Regions from separate parts of the Homo sapiens genome. Here region 2 is linked to region 1. The links are contacts of gene promoters, found by promoter capture Hi-C in blood cells and fetal thymus (Javierre and others, 2016). All regions are on one chromosome and are shown on one strand. The core of a region is centred on a gene start or on the middle of the fragment in contact, and the rest is flanking DNA. Distances in the headings are between cores, read along the strand shown. Region 1 holds the start of RAB42 (RAB42, member RAS oncogene family). Region 2 overlaps PHACTR4 (phosphatase and actin regulator 4).

Region 1 (3,168 bases), core at 282-2,781:
TTTTTGAGACGGAGTCTCGTTCTGTCACCCAGGCTGGAGTGCGGTGGCGCAATCTTGGCTCACTGCATCCTCCACCTCCCGGGTTCAAGCGATTCTCCTGCCTCAGCCTCCCAAGTAGCTGGGATTATAAGCACGTGCCACCATGCCCGACTAATTTTTGTATTTTTAGTAAAAACGGGGTTTCACCATGTTGGCCAGCTGGTCTCGAACTCCTGACCTGAAGTGATCCACCCTCAGCCTCCAAATGTGCTGGGATCACAGGTGTGAGCCACTGCGCCTTGAGTTTCTACTTTATGCCAAGCGCTGAGTTAGGCCCTGAGGATACAATCATCAGCCCCTGCCCTCAAGGAGCCTGCAGCCTGGGAGAGAGACTGACATCAGAGATGGTCAGAAGTGCATGTGGGCCAGACGTGGTACAGGTTCACACCTGTAATCCCAGCATCCCAGCACTTTGGGAGATGGAGGCGGGCGGATCACTTGAGGTCAGGAGTTTGAGACCACCTTGGCTAACATGGTGAAACCCCGTCTCTACTAAAAATACAAAAATTAGCTGGGCGTGGTGGTAGGTGCCTATAATCCCAGCTACTTGGGAGGCTGAGTTGGGAGGATGGCTTGGACCCAGGAGGTGGAGGTTGCAGTGAGCCGAGATTGTGCCACTGCACTCTAGCCTGGGCGACAGAGTGAGACTCCATCTCAAAAATAAGTAAATAAATAAAAACGAGACTAGAGAGACTAGAGTTGGCTGGAGCAACTGGAACTCCAGCCTCAGTGCCCTGGGTTTCCAGAAGGCCAGCCTGGAAAGGGTGGAGTAAACCTTGGAGGCTCATGTGCTGCCTCACCCTAGCCCCTCACCCAAGCAAAACTCAACCAGTGTCTTAGTGCTTGTGGGACCTGCTTTGTCCCCTTTTGTGGCATCGAAGGGGTGATGAAGGATGAGACAAACCTGGATGTGAGTCCCAACTCTGCTGTGTGACCTGAGACAAGCCGTGCCTCTGAGCCTCAGTCTCCTCAGCTCTAAGAGGGGCACTCCCATGGCCCTGTCAAAGGGTTGCTGTCCACAAAACATGAACTGACCGTTGGCCTCATACATGTTAGTTGTCGAATCCACAGGCCAACTGCACTCCCTTTAGAACTGCAGTTGTCTGTGTCTGTCCTGCCTCCTCAACCAGACTGTGCCCAAGTTCCTTCTGGGGCCCTGGTGTCCAACTCAGACAGGCATTAGAGGAAGCCGTGGGGGCTGTTGAACGTTGAACCTGAACACTGAACTAGAGGCCCCAGGCCGGGGCTAATGAGGGCTCCAGGAAAGGGCTTCTGGGTGGAGAGGGAGCATCTACTAACCACTCACTTCCAGAGTGGCCTTCCCGGGTCCAGCAGAGGGTTGGGCGCCAACTAGGGAACCCACAGAGGAGGCGGGGGGTGGGGCGGGGGAGCGGTGTGGAGCGGGTAAGGGGGTGGGGCTGGAGATTAAGAAATGAGTGAGGTGGATGCTTCAGCGCTGTTAGTCTCCTCCCCATGCCCCTCCTCACTTCATCTAGTTTAGTCCCTTTATCCTGTGAAGTAGGGGTCATCATTAGCCCCCTTTTACAGAGGAGAGAATTGAGGCTTCGAGAGAGAGAAACTTGGCCAGGAGTTTCCACTCGGTCCGACGCCCTCGGTGCCCCGCCGGGTACGGTGGCTGGGCGCGGGGAGCGGGGGGCGGCGCCGGCGGGGCCCCGGGCAGGGGCGGGGTCGGGGCGCGGACAAAACCGCCGCGGGGCGGCGGGGTGGCGGACGCGGCCATGGAGGCCGAGGGCTGCCGCTACCAATTTCGGGTCGCGCTGCTGGGGGACGCGGCGGTGGGCAAGACGTCGCTGCTGCGGAGCTACGTGGCAGGCGCGCCTGGCGCCCCGGAGCCGGAGCCCGAGCCCGAGCCCACGGTGGGCGCCGAGTGCTACCGCCGCGCGCTGCAGCTGCGGGCCGGGCCGCGGGTCAAGCTGCAACTCTGGGACACCGCGGGCCACGAGCGCTTCAGGTGCGGGTAGCCGGGGCGCGGGAGGGACTTCTGGTGGGGGGCTCGGTGAGCGTGCTTTAGGCCACGGCAACTCCCGAGAGGCCAACTCAGAGGTCAGGCGGAGGGCGAGGTCCCTGCCCTGGGTCCCGCCCGGTCCACTGGGGCCAGAACCTCCCCTGCTCGGAGTCATTTTTCCCACGAACACTGCGGGGTGGGTCGAGTCCCAGAGACCAGGAACATCCCTGGCTTTGAGCTCTGGACTCTGGAGAGATGCTGAGTGATACTGGCCCCGGGTGCTGAGAGCTCAGGGGAACAGAGCGGGAAGTGTCGAGGAGATGTGGAAGGGAGAGAGGATCAGCAGGAGTTTGCCAGGAAGAGAACAGAGGAACGAAGACCTAGGTCAGGGCAGCACCAGGCCTTCTCCAAGAATGAGGGATTCAAGTCACGCTTGCTCCCTAACTGGAGCACCCAGACTTTTTTCTTTTCTTTTTTTTTTTTGAGACGGAGTCTCTCTCTGTCGCCCAGGCTGGGGTGCAGTGGTGCGATCTTGGCTCACTGCAAGCTCCGCCTCCTGGGTTCACGCCATTCTCCTGCCTCAGCCTCCCAAGTAGCTGGGACTACAGGCGCCCGCCACCACGCCCGGCTAATTTTTTTGTATTTTCAGTAGAGACACGGGGTTTCACCGTGTTAGTCAGGATGGTCTGGATCTCCTGATCTCGTGATCCACATCCACCCGCCTCGGCCTCCCAAAGTGCTGGGATTACAGGCGTGAGCCACCGCACCCGGCCAGCACCCAGACTGTTAGGAGAGACACAGACACCGAGGCAGAGAACCACGGGGCCGTGTGAAGTGAGCCCTGTTGGGGTGTGAGGCATTCTGTGGATCCCAGGGGGAGGAGGTCCTGCCTCTGGGGGTGTCATGGAGGCATCAGCCTCTCCCAGCTTACCTTTCCACCTCCCTGCCTCCCCAGGTGCATCACCAGGTCCTTTTACCGGAATGTGGTGGGTGTCCTGCTGGTCTTTGATGTGACAAACAGGAAGTCCTTTGAACACATCCAAGACTGGCACCAGGAGGTCATGGCCACTCAGGGCCCGGACAAGGTCATCTTCCTGCTGGTTGGCCACAAGAGTGACCTGCAGAGCACCCGCTGTGTCTCAGCCCAGGAGGCCGAGGAGCTA
Region 2 (3,168 bases), core at 498-2,997, 180 kb before region 1:
GTGTTTGGATTACAGGTGTGAGCCCGGCCTGAGATTATTTTTTTCTAAACACTTATTTAAATCTTGGAATTTGTAAATTAACATTCATTCAATCATAATATGGAGTTTATAGGAAAACAGAAATGACTCATATTTAACTACCATTCTCCTCTGTCTCCATTTTTCCTTCTAAATGTTATAATGATTTTTTTCTTAGTTGTTTACTATACATATACACACATATACATATGATAAGAATTTGGTGTACTCAGTGTCATTTGACAAAGAAAAGAATTGAGGATGTAAAATGAGTTTGTTTCTTTTGGTGGAGTGAGAATTTTGTTATAATCAAGTTAGCTAATAATTAAGTAGAAATATTGAAAAAGAGATAAAAGACTACACATTGGGTACAGTGTACACGGCTTGGATGATGGTTGCACCAGAATCTTAGAAATCACCACTAAAGAACGTATTCATGTAACCAAATACTACCCATTCCCCAAAACCTATTGAAGTAAAAAATGACATAAAAAAGGAAAAAAAGAAAACAGAAACCACCCAAAAGAAAGAAAGAAAGAACGAATGAACAAAAGAAAGAAAGAACGAATGAACAAAAGAAAGAAAGAAAGAGAAAGAAAGAAAGAATTATTTGTGGTATTCTGGAAATAAAAGTAGTGAGGGATTTTTACGAATAAAGTACCAGAAGGATAGACCTAAGGTCTCTAGGACCTTTTCTACCTGGACAGATGCTTACACATTTCATTATATAATATTTAAATATCATGTTCGTTAATATCACTATTGGTCTCGTTGAAAAAAATGTTAAATGTTGGGAAGCTGTCAAGCTCATTCTGGATGTAAATTTTCCAAAATAGGAATTTCACTTGAAAGCTTGAATTCTATCACTAGCAACAAATACTGTTAATTTTCTTTATTAGTGACAGGCTTACTTTTGAGAAAATGCCTGTCAGCTATCTAAGCTTGAATAACATAGCTTGTTGTTCAGTCTTTCAAGTAAAAATAGTATTCCATGAAGAAAACTGTCTAGTTCAGTTTGCAACTCAGTCACACAAATGCCTTTCCTGGAGATAACCATCATACTTAGTATACAAATGTGCTTTATACATATTTCTGTTTCATCATAAACAGTAATAAAAATATATGTACTAAAGGGTTGATATTTATTAAAACTAATATTTTTTATTGCTTTATCAAGGACATTCTTAAAGTTGAATTTATTTTTCACTGTAACTGTGTAGTTGTGAAGAATACAATGATTTCTGCTACAGTTTGGTGCTGTTGCCTTGATTTGTGTTAAGGTGCTAACAGTTTTGCTCACCATTGCTTTTGTACCATCAGTGCAAGTGTCAACACAGTGGAAAAGGCAAATAATTTTTTTGTATTCTTATGTATTTAGTTTTACCTCTTGGACTTCTGAAAGGATCTCAGGGATCCCCAGAGATCAGCAGATTATACTTGCTTCATTTTCCTGAGGTTCCTAGAGGCCCTTCTATGGAAGTCATGAGTAAAGTTAAGATTTAATCCTGGAGATTGTATTGGGCAGGGTTTCAGTGTGGACTAGGTCTTGGACATTTGACAGAAATATGGTCAGAGGGAGTGATTAGCTCTGTGGTTTCTCCTAAGCAGGAGTACCCTGCACCACTACCCCCGGGCCACAGGAGGTGAGCAGTGGGCCAGTGAGCATTACAGTCTGAGCTCCACCTCCTGTCAGATCAGTGATTAGGTGGAACAGTTTCATCCCAAACCACCCCAACACCCCCGTCTGTAGAAAAATTGTCTTCCATGAACCTGGTCCCTGGTGCCAAAAAGGTTGGGGACCGCTGGGTTAAAGAAACTTTTGTGGAGCGAAATGAGTCTGGAACTCATTAGGCAATCAAGTATGTTCAAAGAAGAAATCCATAAGCATTTAGTCAAGACAGGCTGAGGGCCAGGCTCACCTGGGTACTGTGTTCTTAGCTTTAAAAAGGATAAATAGCAGCAGAGATATTGGTGATGACAGCTTTCAATATATCTCTTGAGTCACATTGCTCCAGTCTGTGTACAGGTGGCCTTGCAGTCTGTAGAGGTGGTACGCAACTGTCATCCTGGGTTATCCAGTCTCCATTTTCCTGACAGCTTTGCTTCTTTCCTGTGTTAGCTCCTTTGTTTCCTAAACCCTCATGTCTTCCTCTGTCTTGGTTGCCAGTAGCTTTTTGATGTTGAACCTCCTGGAATAATTATCTAATTCATTTCTTTTTCCTTTAGATATGTTTCCTGCAAGATTTATTCAACTTTATCTTCTACTTTTATTAAATTTTTCTTTTCTACTATTAGAGTTTAATCTCCAGGAGGTCTTTTTGAAGTCTCTGCATGTTTCTTTTTATACTATCCTTTCATTCTTTCAACAGATTTTCCTTGCCCTGCATAGTCTCTTTTTTTCCTAACATTGTTTTTAAATATTGATTTGGTTTCTTTTATGTTAGAGTTTTTCTCTGATGTCTAGTAATAATTAACTGTCTGCTGATGGTTAAAAGTGAGGGACTAAATAGCCAGTTAGAAGCTTTAAATGTATAGGCAGGTTGCCTTTGGGTGAGCTTCTTGGCCTTATTGTTGATGAACATTCTCATATCAGTATCAGGGTCTAAGGGGCACAGTCTTCCCACTGTGTTTGGATGGTAAGGGGTGAAGAAAACTGACTGAAGAGACTGCTGCATTCAGCATTAATTATGCATATTTTCACTTAATTCTCTTCCATTTTTAATTTTACTTGTATTTGTATTTTATTTTACTTTATTTTTATCTTTTGAGATGGAGTCTTGCTCTGTCACCCAGGCTAGAGTGCAGTGGCGCCATCTCAGCTTACTGCAACCTCTGCCTCCTGGGTTCAAATGATTCTCCTGGCCTCAGCCTCCCGAGTAACTGGGATTACAAGCACCCATCACTGCCTGGCTAATTTTTGTAGTTTTAGGGTTTCACCATGTTGGCTAGGCTGGTCTCGAACTCCTGACCTCAGGTGATCCGCCTGCCTCGGCCTACCAAAGTGCTGAGATTACAGGCATGAGCCTCTGCAGCTGGCCTTATTTTCTTTTTCATTTTATTTTTTTATTTTTATTTTTTGGGGTCAGTCTTCCTCTGTCTCAAAAAAAAAAAAAAAAAAAAAAGCACCGCAGCCTCGACCTCCTGAGCTCA

What was found. Contacts are between HindIII fragments. The CHiCAGO score rates a contact against its expected background, and 5 or more counts as called.
Region 2: a fragment that was not itself captured here is called in contact with the fragment with the promoter of RAB42 in region 1 in 14 of 17 cell types (M0 macrophages, M2 macrophages, activated CD4 T cells and 11 more); the score reaches 12.9 in M0 macrophages.

Annotation. Positions count from the first base shown.
Region 1 is chr1:28,590,734-28,593,901 of GRCh38, forward strand. It overlaps RAB42 (RAB42, member RAS oncogene family), which reads left to right and starts at 1,532. Exons shown (of 2, transcript NM_001193532.3): 1 at 1,532-2,011; 2 at 2,961-3,168. The coding sequence starts at 1,779. RefSeq lists a silencer at 1,673-1,742 and an enhancer at 2,524-3,168. The HindIII fragment of the contact is 13,184 bases long and covers 1-3,168 here.
Region 2 is chr1:28,411,310-28,414,477 of GRCh38, forward strand. The region is part of intron 2 of PHACTR4 (phosphatase and actin regulator 4); the gene reads left to right. Among named protein-coding and RNA genes, the nearest start is that of PHACTR4, 43 kb to the left of the region's middle. The HindIII fragment of the contact is 1,580 bases long and covers 958-2,537 here.